4 separate regions of the Homo sapiens genome follow, and regions 1, 3 and 4 are each linked to region 2. The links are contacts of gene promoters, found by promoter capture Hi-C in blood cells and fetal thymus (Javierre and others, 2016). All regions are on one chromosome and are shown on one strand. The core of a region is centred on a gene start or on the middle of the fragment in contact, and the rest is flanking DNA. Distances in the headings are between cores, read along the strand shown.

Region 1 (2,741 bases), core at 83-2,582, 1.3 Mb after region 2:
CCTGCCTCAACCTCCCAAGCAGCTGGGACTATAGGCACCTGCCACCACGCCCGGCTAATTTTTTTTTTTTTGGTACCTTTAGTAAAGACGAGGTTTCACCGTGTTGGCCAGGATGGTCTCGAACTCCTGACCTCGTGATCCACTCGCCTCGGCCTCCCAAAGGGCTGGAATTACAGGCACGAGCCACTGTGCCCGGCCCTAGTTATTTCTTAAAGTTGACTAAGAGTGGTTTCCTTCGGCCCCAAAAAACTATGCATTCTAAAACATGAAATGCTTCTCTACACCCCTACTCCATTTAAATTTTCTGAAGTGCCCATTTTTCCTGTCTTACATGGTGAAATCCTAGCTGTTTATTTTTATGTTCTTCAAGATTTAGATGGTGTCACCAGGAACCGAGTGCTCTCCCCATTCCACTACCCCATGATTTTCTTACAAAACCCAGATTAAGTTTCTCCCAGATAAACAGATAAAACTAACCTAGCTGATTTCTTATATCAAAGTTAACATTGTGAATGTCAAAGAACCAATGCTATGCAATGATGTAAAATATCGCTCTAATTTAATTCCCACTGGTAGGCCACATGTTTGCTTCAGTATTTTACCTTCTAAGCTGGGAGAACAATGCAGAGATAGCACAGCTATATTTTAATATGCATGTTACCCACCTTGAATTAACATAAGGCAGCTTCCTAATGCTATAAAATGGAAATTTATGACACTTTCAGATATAATGTCGTGCACACGATATGAGTTTTTGGGGTGGTTTTGTTTATTCCTCTCTTCTCCTCCCCTCATTTTTAATTACATCTGCCTATATAAGTGCACAGTTAATTTTCATCGGCTGCCCATATAGCTTGAGTTTTCTACTTCTTGTGTTCGGAACACTTATCTATAGTTAAGTTTTGAGGCTTAAAAGTCAGTCATTTATTTAGCACCTACTGTATGCCCAACAGGTTGTAACTAACTGGTGAACATAGGTAAAATGGAGGCATTTTCTCACCCACAAACTGCTTGCAATGAAGATGTATTTATAGGGGAGGGGAAACAATGGCTGAAGGTAACATAGGAGATTGTTTTGGCTGTTAAGTAAAGAGATATGACACACACACACGCACACACACACACACACGCATACCAGATTTTATCTATGCAAATGAACATTTACCTTAGAGAATTGCACGTATTTCCTTCAAAAATGTTGCAATTGCCCTATAAATTTGGGAGCTACTTTCTTTTGGTGATGAAATACACAAACCACAAAATTTCTTTTTGGTCTGTTATCATATTTACTTTCTAACAGTTTTATCCAACTCAATCTTTCACCTTCCTTACCCGTTTAGAATGATATTAAATGTAAAAAATTAAATATACTTTTTAACAAAGATGAGCCATATTATTTTTCTATATTCAAAGGGATGTGATGTAGGTAATTTCAGAATGATTTAAACATCAATGGTATTAGTGCCTAGAGACAACATTCATTTTGAGTACAAGTTTTGCTAGTTTTGCTAAATAAAATTGGGTACATTATTTATATTAAGTATCAAATAGTGTATGTGTGGAATACAGGTTCTTGATAATTAGGCCCCAACTAAGTGCACATAGTCTGTGGGTCTAAGTTAGATGAAAAATGTCCTAATAAGGAGCACCTTGCAATGGCCCTTGCTCTGTGCTTCAGCCCCAGCCAACTTGCCCAGGACAGAGGAACTCATCCCAAGACTGTGGCAGGAAGGTTGATAACTATTATGGCAGTACCTGTTTCTTACTTCTGGGCCTAGCTATCAGTTCATATCATCCAAGATCATTACCCAAACATGTAGACATCATCTCAGGCCTCTAACAACACAAGTAGCCAGCCTCATTTTAGAACACACCAGAGGACTCTTGACATTCTAAATTGTCATCTTTTAATGGACTCATCCCTTCTTCCTTCTTTAGGAAGTTCTCATATCTGTGTCCCGGTCTCTGTTGTCTGTTCCTGCTGTTCTCTGCTGTCTGTATCTGCTGTTCTTCCCAGACCACAGGCAGGTTCCAACATGTGCTTTAATTTAGTCTCATCTCTCATAGGATGTTGCCCACCTTTAACCTGTCTGGTAGTTGATGTGTGTACATGATACCTTTTGTTGGGTTATTCTGGTTTTCCTTCTGCTGTTTAGATGAGAGCTTCAGTCATTCTTTGGTCACTCAAACACTTTCAGACATAATAACACACTAGGCTTGTGACCATTTGGTATTTGGGGTCTTTGAATAATGTACACTGTATTTTGACAGTGGTCTGGGACACCATCAATTGATAATTGTTGCAGCAGAGGATTGCAAGATAAAAACAAATCTCTGTCATGAAAGTCAGAAATCCCAAATGTAGAATAATAATGGAAGTTTGTAGCATTTTTAGAGCACTATATGGTTTACAAAACTTTCACATTAGCTATTTTAGTTCTTATAACGGCCTTAAGTATCATTTCTCTGATTTTAGTGTGGAAACTGAGATCTAAAGAGATCTGAATGATTTCCTCATGGTCACACAGCCAGTGAGTGACAGAACTGAAGGTATCTGACCACAGGGCCTGTGTTGTTCCCACCTCCCACAGCTGAAGGAGTTGGAGTTCCTACTTTTCTCTGAGCTAGCTGCATGGCTTTAGAGAAGTAGGATGGAAGGGGTTAATATCAGTGGACATGAATGTCTCTAATATTCTTCATTTCTAATTTTTTAAGTCTATCAGGTTTGGACACGAAATTTT
Region 2 (2,818 bases), core at 272-2,771:
CAAGGGCAGGAAGTGATGGTGACCAGCGGTGCCTGAATGAACTCAGGAATGTAACTGTAGATCTAGGGTCCCAAACTTTAGGTTTCAAAGGATCTCTTGGAGTACTTGCTGAAAAATGTAGGTTCCTAAGTCCACTGCCAGAAACTCTGACTCAGTGGGTCAAGAATGGAATAACTAAACAATGGCCCCATGCAGTGGTTCATGCCTGTAATCCCAGCACGTTGGGAGGTTGAAGCAAGAGGATCACTTGAGGTCAGGAGTTCGAGACCAGCCTGGCCTACATGGTAAAACCCCATCTCTACTAAAAATACAAAAAAATTAGCTGGGCATGGTGGCATGCACCTGTAATCCCAGCTACTTGGGAGGCTGAGGCAGGAGAATTGCTTGAATCTGGGAGGTGGAGGTTGTAGTGGGCCGAGATTGTGCCATTGCACCACTGCACTCCAGCCTGGGCGATAAAGTGAGATTCTGTCAAAAAAATAAATAAATACATGAAAGAGAGAAAGAAAGAAAGAAAGAAAGAAAGAAAGAAAGAAAGAAAGAAAGAAAGAAAGAAGGAAAGAAGGAAAGAATAGAAAAGAAAAGAAAGAAAGAAAGAAAGGAAGAAAAGGAAAGAAAGAAATGCTGAATAAGATATAGAGACAACATACAGCTGGGCCAGCTTATGACATCTGATAGTGGGGAGATTTGGGGCTGGGTCCTGAATCTGAGGGTAATTAACTCCCTGTAACTTCTTTTCCTAATCTGTAAAAGGATAGTGACAGCGAGACATTGTGATGGGGTTAATATTTTGGAAAACATCCACATGTTTTTTTCCTTTGCCTTTCTGAGTGTGTCAACTACTTCCTACCTGTCCAGCCTAACACACAGGCATGTTGTCTTGGTAGGGATGGAGATCTGAGAAGGAGATTAGAATTTGTGTCTGAAGGTTTGCAAAGAGGAAGAAGTCGTCAATATTTAGATTCTGACATTCAAGATGGAATTATGTAGCAAGACCATTGCTATGAGACAGTATTTCTATTTTCCTTTATCCACTCCCACCCTGCCCTCTTCCCACCCTCACAGTAGCATGAGAAAAACCACATATGGAAGTTTCAGGTCATAAAAATTATCTTATAATTTAGAAAACAGGCCTTGTGCCTATGACAGCCAGGCCATGAGGCTTAGAGCTCTGTGGTAGAATGAGGATATGTTAGGGAAAAGCAAAGAAAATCCCTCCCCTCTTTGGCTGAGGACATTATCAAAAGGAGAGCAAGAAAGAGAAGAGAGAAATGGGCTTGAGGTGAGTGCAGATAAGGGGTGCATGGATCCTGAGGGCAAGGAGAGGAGCTTCTTTCAGTTTCCCTCCTTTCCAACGACTACTTTGAGACAAGAGCTGTCCCTGGGCAGTAGGAAAGGGGAGGGACAGTTGCAGGTTCAATAGATGTGGGTGGGGCCAAGGCCACAGAACCCAGAAAAACAACTCATTCGCTTTCATTTCCTCACTGACTATAAAAGAATAGAGAAGGAAGGGCTTCAGTGACCGGCTGCCTGGCTGACTTACAGCAGTCAGACTCTGACAGGATCATGGCTATGATGGAGGTCCAGGGGGGACCCAGCCTGGGACAGACCTGCGTGCTGATCGTGATCTTCACAGTGCTCCTGCAGTCTCTCTGTGTGGCTGTAACTTACGTGTACTTTACCAACGAGCTGAAGCAGGTCAGTGCAGTGCAGTGCACTCAGTCTTCGAGGCGCTTAGCAAATGTCTGGTTACCTGCTTCTTTGCATGTCAGCTTGCCCCTCTCTGAAGACTTTCCTGCTTCCTTTCTCTGTGGGTACACTCTAACTGCTAAATCACATAACAACTGAGGTCTTTGCAAAACTGTAAGTTCAAGAAATTGTGTAAACTAAGTGCAGTTACACAACTGGCTTCACTAGTTACTAGCAGATGTGGGCAACAAAACTCCTGAGGGATTTTTTGTTTTTAAAAGTATGTGTATTTTATAATATCAGCCATTGCAACTCTTCATGAAAGCTTTCTGCTAAATGCTTTGTAGTTCTTTTGTTTTCCTTTTCCAAACTTTTATTTGTGCACATTCAATTGAAAAAGATAATTTTTACAGGTTCTTTGGTGCCCATTTTCAGCATACAAAAATGTAAAAGACTATTCACAGATAAAACACATTAGCTCAAAATGGAAAAAAATAACAATGACAACAATAAAACAACCTAAGGTAGTGCACACTGTGACAGCTCTGCTTATGGGGACATGAGAATTCCTGCGAAAATAAATAGAATGTCCTTTTGTAAAAGCAGCAATGACATGTCTTGTAAACTTCCTTTTTTATATTATAACAAGGTTTGGAATAAAATCCAAAGGGACTGGAGCTTACACTGTAGCCATGAATAAATAAAAGAGTCTATTTCCTCAATTACCGTTGGTTCAGTTTTCCTTTTGAGTCCAATGTGCAGCAGGTTTTAAAAGGTGCACAGTAAGAGATTCTAACCAATTAAGTGGTGAATGATAAAATTTCTTTCCTGCTTTCAAACACAAATGGGTAAATCTGTTCCACAGCAGTAGCAACAGCCTTTAAATAGGGCCTTGTTACTGTGATACTTCCTGTCGAAAAAATCTGTAATGTAGCTCTTAGAGTCTTTATCCAATAGCACACAGCAGGATGAAGTTCAGATTCATAACTCACATGAGGTCTATTGCTCTTTGTGAATTCTGGCAAACAGATTTCTTTATTTTTAAATTTTTTTATTTTACTTTAAGTTCTGGGATACGTGTACAGAACGTGCAGGTTTGTTACATAGGTATACATGTGCCATGGTGGTT
Region 3 (2,860 bases), core at 43-2,542, 1.0 Mb after region 2:
AATGCTGCTTTGTATTTTGGTAGTTTACTCCTCAAGAGAGAAGATGTGGGCAGGAGAAGGTTAATTGAGTAAGCAAAACCATGACTTCCAATAGAGAATGTTCAAAAAAAAAAAAAAAAAAAGCACCAGGATGTGTTAGCCCAATAAATAATTCATTGGACTGCCTATTCACAGACTAATAGAAAAATATTACAGAATACCTACATGTCAATCAGTTAGTTAAATAAACTAACTGCAGTTAGTTAAATAAACACTCTATGTAGATGTCACCTGTAAAACCCAGATTTATACATTCATCGTATGTTTTACCCAGGCAAAAACATAATATCTAGTAACTTGACTTCAAAAACTATTAACATCTCATGCCCTTGAAAAGGTTACCTGACATCTTGTAGGCCAGATCCAGGGTTGAATAGACATGTCCCCTGCCACTGAGCTTACAATAGCCAAACATTCAAATGACACTTTAGTTACTTTTGCTGCCCTTACAGAGAAACATTGAGAGTTGTGATCCTTCCGGGCCTGCTGGAATTCTCCTGACTTCAGGGGGCACAGCTGCAGCAGTGAATGCAAAGGCAAAATGTGGATTTGCAAATGCCCCAACTCCAGCTCAGTCAGAAACTCCCATTTTTACTCAAATAATTTCCTAATTATTTGATATACTTAAAAAAAGATGAAAATGATAAGCCCTGCTATCCCAGGAATTGTGCTTTATATGGCCTTTTTTCTACTCAATCTTCACAACAACTTTGTGAGGCAGGTATTATTATTATGACTCTACTTTTAGATAAAACATCTAGAATATGATAAAACTGAGAGCAACAAAAAGCATCATGAGTAATATGACAAATTGACACCACACAGTGCCTGATAAGAGGCAAAATAAGGAATCAAATCACTTCTGTGATATTTTTAGTAAAAGTGTATAAACTGAACTCAATCACCACCAGACCAACCCGAATTGAGGGACGTTCTAAAAAATACCTTGGCAATACTCCAAATGCATCAAGGGCATGAAAGACAAAGACAGACTGAGAATCTGTTGCAAATCAAGGAAGACAAACAAAACAAGACAAACTAAATGCAACACGTAAATTTGGGCTGGATCTTGGAGCAGAAAAAAAAGTAGATTAGTGAGACTATTGGTGAACTTGAGGACTGTAGGTCAGAAAATAGTATTTTATCAATGTTAACTTCCTGATTTTGATCATTTCACTGTGGCATGAAAAATGTTAACATTTGGGGAAACTATAAGAAGGGTAATCAGAAATTTTTTCTTACTTTCTGTGTAAGTAAAAAATTATTTCAAAATTAAAAGTTGAAAAGTGGGGAAGAAAAGAAAGTAAAAGAAATAAACACTAAATGCAGCATCCCAGTAGGGAATCTGGAGAGACAGAGAAGGTGGTACCGTATTTGGGGTGGGAATGAATCTCTTCTGACAGCTGGAAACCATTTGGGGTTTGTCCTTGGAGTGGTTTATCCAGAAGATCAATTTCTGAAGTGTAAAATTCTTGTGACTGACAGGCTGTTGGAGTTGGAAGAGAATGCAGAGGTACTCTGAGGGCTCTCATCTTGCAGAAATGACATCTGAAGCTCAGAAAGGCATGAGGATGATGGGCCCAAGGTCATACAGCTAAAGAGCCAAGATAAGAACCTAGCTTTTCTGGGTCATGGGATACTATTTCTATGCCACCATTCATTTCTGAAAGTGGACACCTCCCGGCTCAAGCCCATAATCCATGGTGTAGGGGCTTTATCCATTAGGCATGTGATTCTACCCACCTGCTAGAGATTTTCTTCTGGAGCCAGATAGTCATTCACTTATTCACTCATTCAACAAATATTTATTGAGTGCCTCCCAATGCCAGGCATTACTTGAATGGTAAATGATACAGCAACTATCAAAAACAAAGTTCTCAAATTCTAGTGGACAGACCGAAGTACTGATCCAGTGTCCACCCTTAGTGACCTGCATGACCTTGGGCACATTCCTTTACCTCTCTAAGCCTCAGTTTGCTCTTCTGTAACACAGAGAAGATGGAATTACTCAAGGATTATTCTGAACATTAAGTAAGATATTGCATCTAACCTTTTAGCAGAATTGTCTGGTGTGTAAGTACTCAGTAAATATTAAGTATTACTGTTAATGTGTTTTTCTCTCCAACCGGGAGCTCTGTCAGTTACACTAGCTTGAGGAGATATCTGGGTGCACTCAGAAATTCTATACTATATTTCTAAACGCATTGAAAACTCACATTTAAGAAGGTGAGTTTTTCCAACAGAGTAATTTTCCATTTCCCACTCCATTTCTTTGTTATTTTCAAAGGTAGATAAACAATAAAAAGAAAGGGCAAGAAAGGCCAACTGAGAAAATTGGTGCTGAGCGAGGAATTCAAATGGGAATTACAATATGTGGAATATCTGATAGGTTTTATCTAGATTTAAATGAGACTGCTCTTGGAGGCTGGTTGCATCTAGCCTCTTCATGGGCATAATTTGAATGACACTTTAGCCACCCCATGATTATTTCTACAAATGGAAGGAATACTAGATTATCTGACATAAAACAAGATAAGCAGAACTTGCTAGTACTGCTTGGAGCAAGCTTCTGGTGCCTTCCTTACTGCTATATCCTAAGAATATGACCATTAATTCCTCTCTGCCATGTTGCTTGTTGCCTGTCTCCCTAGGGTCAGGTCTTTCCAGATATCTACTTTCTTCCCTTCCCTTCACCACCCCCAGCACCAGCAAAAGGCCTTAAACATAGAAAGTGTTAAAGAAATGTATGTTGGCTGAGCATCGTGGCTCACACTCGTAATCCCAGCACTTTGGGAGGCCTAGGTGGATGGATCACTTGAGG
Region 4 (2,700 bases), core at 9-2,508, 1.3 Mb after region 2:
TTTTTTCTTTTAAATTCGGGTTTGAAAGTTATATATAATAGGTTGTAGCACACTGTTCTAGGCACATTTCTGGATTTAGACATGATTAAGACATGGTCCCTTTCCTTTAAGAACTTAATACATATAAATAACAAAAGTCAAAACAGTCATAAATATTTTAATAAAATAGCTTTCCCATAAAAAGTGCTCTGGGAACACATGAGAGGTAGAGATTAATTTTGAGAAGTGTTTTTATGGAGGAAATGGCATTTGGTTTTAATCTTGAAGAACAAGTAAGATTTGAACAGATGGACATAAGTGTTTCCAGGGTGAAGGCCCATCTTTAGCATAGGCTTGGAGACAGGACACACAAGGTGAGTTAGAGGGTGTGTATTGGATAGGTCATGGAAATGATGTTTGAAAGTTGTCTGGATCTTCTTGTAAATGAGTCTCGGTACCAGGCAGGGGAGCTTGAACTTGATGTTTATGATCTTGGAGTGAAGCCAATAATTACTATTTTCTTTTTAAAAAGTATCTGGCTCTTAGAAAATTCTAAGAATAATGCAGAAGTGCAAGTAAATGCTAGAACTATTAGAGTTGGCAACACAGGTAGGAAACGTGCGCAATTAGAAAAGAATTGTTGCAGAACTTGAAGACTGAGGTTTCAAACCCTGGCACAGTAAGAATAAGCTTGTCCTTAGGGTAAGCCAGAACCCAATCTCTCCCTCTCAGATGTAGTGAGTCTCTACCATGTATCAGGCAGTGTACTCAGAGGATGCAGAGTGAGTGAGAAATATCCCTGAATTCAGCTTAGCAGTAGAGCCAGAAAGGTAAACAAATGAGTGTTGTATTAAATGCACTTGCAAAGTACCATTGTGAAATGAAATAACAGGAACAATAATGACTATCATTTAAAATCCACTTGTTATGTGCCAGACTCTGTTGTAATCACTTTACATCTGTTAACTCATTTAACCTCTATGAAGCAGGAACCTTTATTATCCCCATTATGTAGATTAAAAAACTGAGGCACTGAGTGTGAAGTAACTTTCCCAAAATCATCCAACTAGACAGTGGTATAGAGGTAGGATTCAACCCCTATTTTTTGTGGCTAACAACTATACCTGTCAGGAAACAGCTGGGGCAGTAGGCAGGGGTGAGAGAGGAGTGAGAAAAGATGGGGATGGGTATTTCAGGAAATGAAATTAACACATGTAAAGGCATAAGGAGAATTTGAGAAAGATAGTTGGCGATTAGAGACGAATTTTACTTTGGGTCTGATTTCAATTGCTGGTGTGATATTTAGGTGGGAATGCCTCACTAACGATGTGGGTATTTTTGGAGAAGTCACCAGGCATTTTCTCTCTGGCCTCTTTCCTCTCCATGTTAACAGTCGCTCTATAGTGGTGCTCCACATACATTCCATCTCTGTATGAACAGGGAAGTAGCTGTCAGTGAGGAAGATGTAGTACTGTCTTCTAGCCTTTTCCTAAGTGGTCCAATTGCTCATTAAGAATCCACTCCAACTTAGTAACCAAACAGTATTGTAAATATTGATACTACGGGGGTATTCTCATGACCCAGTTGCCCCCAGCCCTTAAGGAACTTAAAATTTAGTGAGTGACCTACCCAACTGTGGCAGTATCTGAGTAGCTCCTTCTAAACTTAGAAAGATGGGGTTAACTAAGGATAAATAATTATCTTCACAGTTTCCAAGCAGAAATTGAACTGCTCAAAGTAAGTGTGTAAATGTGGGTGTATATGCATGTGTGAATATGTGTGTGGGTGTGTGAGTTTATTTTCTATTGAGATGGAGGAATCATAGGTAAGTATGACTGATCTCATAGATGAAGAAGTAAAAAGCTTCCTAGTTATTCAGTGTACTTAAACTTCTCTGAAACTTATTTTAGGTTAATGAAGGAAAATATTTGAGGTTCTTGCCTTAGAAGAATTGCCTTAGTAGTCCCTCCCCTAAAATGTTTTTATTCTGACCTTGATGCAAGAGTCAGTAAAGACCATTTCAGCAGTGATTGTCACATATCACCTTCCCTCTAAACATGAAGCAAAGTGAAACTATAATCTCTCCAGCATAGGCTGTTTCAGTGGTCTTTCATGTAGGAAGCTCTGAAGTAACACCAGCCCCAGCTGTGCTTTTTGGGATAACTATTTCATAATAAGAAAGAAATCATATTTTGAGACAACAGCAACAAAAAGCTGATATTGTGTCTGTGGTTCTGTTTTGAGTGCCACCACTGAATTAAAGCTATCCAAGGAAATGAAACATCGAGGTTGGGGGAACATTGTGTGATGTATGTTGGCTGAAATACTAAACACTCCAGTATAACATCAATATATAATTTGTATGGTTACAAATATTATTGGCATAAATAATTCATGCTGCTGCTTTGTATTTACTTGATTAACAGCGTCTTTGTCATTTTTGTCAGTCATGATGCCATTGCAATCTTGCACATTGTGTTTAAAGAATACTCGGGGAAATGTTTCAACTGTGTGTCTGGATGGTATAATGTATTTATTCATTTAGTCAGATGAAATGAAAGAGAGAGTGTTTAATATGCATGCCTGCATTATACTAGCTACTCTCTAAATAAATTACAGACAGTATTACTCCCTTTCATTGTAAGAAAAATTATAGTTTGATTTTTTTCAAGTAGCCAACATGCTGCCATTTTGTACTTTTAATTACAAATTTTTGAGGTT

Evidence for each region. The method cuts DNA at HindIII sites, captures the fragments that hold promoters and counts their contacts. A CHiCAGO score of 5 or more calls a contact.
Region 1: a fragment that was not itself captured here is called in contact with the fragment with the promoter of TNFSF10 in region 2 in 2 of 17 cell types (non-activated CD4 T cells and activated CD4 T cells); the score reaches 7.8 in non-activated CD4 T cells.
Region 3: a contact is called between a fragment that was not itself captured here and the fragment with the promoter of TNFSF10 in region 2, in 1 of 17 cell types (activated CD4 T cells). The highest score is 5.6, in activated CD4 T cells.
Region 4: a contact is called between a fragment that was not itself captured here and the fragment with the promoter of TNFSF10 in region 2, in 2 of 17 cell types (activated CD4 T cells and non-activated CD4 T cells). The highest score is 5.8, in activated CD4 T cells.

What each region holds. Positions count from the first base shown.
Region 1 is chr3:171,250,452-171,253,192 of GRCh38, reverse strand. All of the region lies in intron 2 of TNIK (TRAF2 and NCK interacting kinase), which reads left to right. Among named protein-coding and RNA genes, the nearest start is that of MIR569, 150 kb to the right of the region's middle. RefSeq lists an enhancer at 2,015-2,094. The HindIII fragment of the contact is 3,293 bases long and covers 1-2,741 here.
Region 2 is chr3:172,522,133-172,524,950 of GRCh38, reverse strand. TNFSF10 (TNF superfamily member 10) reads left to right here and starts at 1,521. Exons shown (of 5, transcript NM_003810.4): 1 at 1,521-1,698. The coding sequence starts at 1,567. It also overlaps the pseudogene TBPL1P1. RefSeq lists an enhancer at 1,540-1,589. The HindIII fragment of the contact is 8,260 bases long and covers 1-2,016 here.
Region 3 is chr3:171,496,487-171,499,346 of GRCh38, reverse strand. No RefSeq gene overlaps it. Among named protein-coding and RNA genes, the nearest start is that of TNIK, 38 kb to the right of the region's middle. The HindIII fragment of the contact is 2,630 bases long and covers 1-2,607 here.
Region 4 is chr3:171,269,098-171,271,797 of GRCh38, reverse strand. All of the region lies in intron 2 of TNIK (TRAF2 and NCK interacting kinase), which reads left to right. Among named protein-coding and RNA genes, the nearest start is that of MIR569, 160 kb to the right of the region's middle. The HindIII fragment of the contact is 1,173 bases long and covers 672-1,844 here.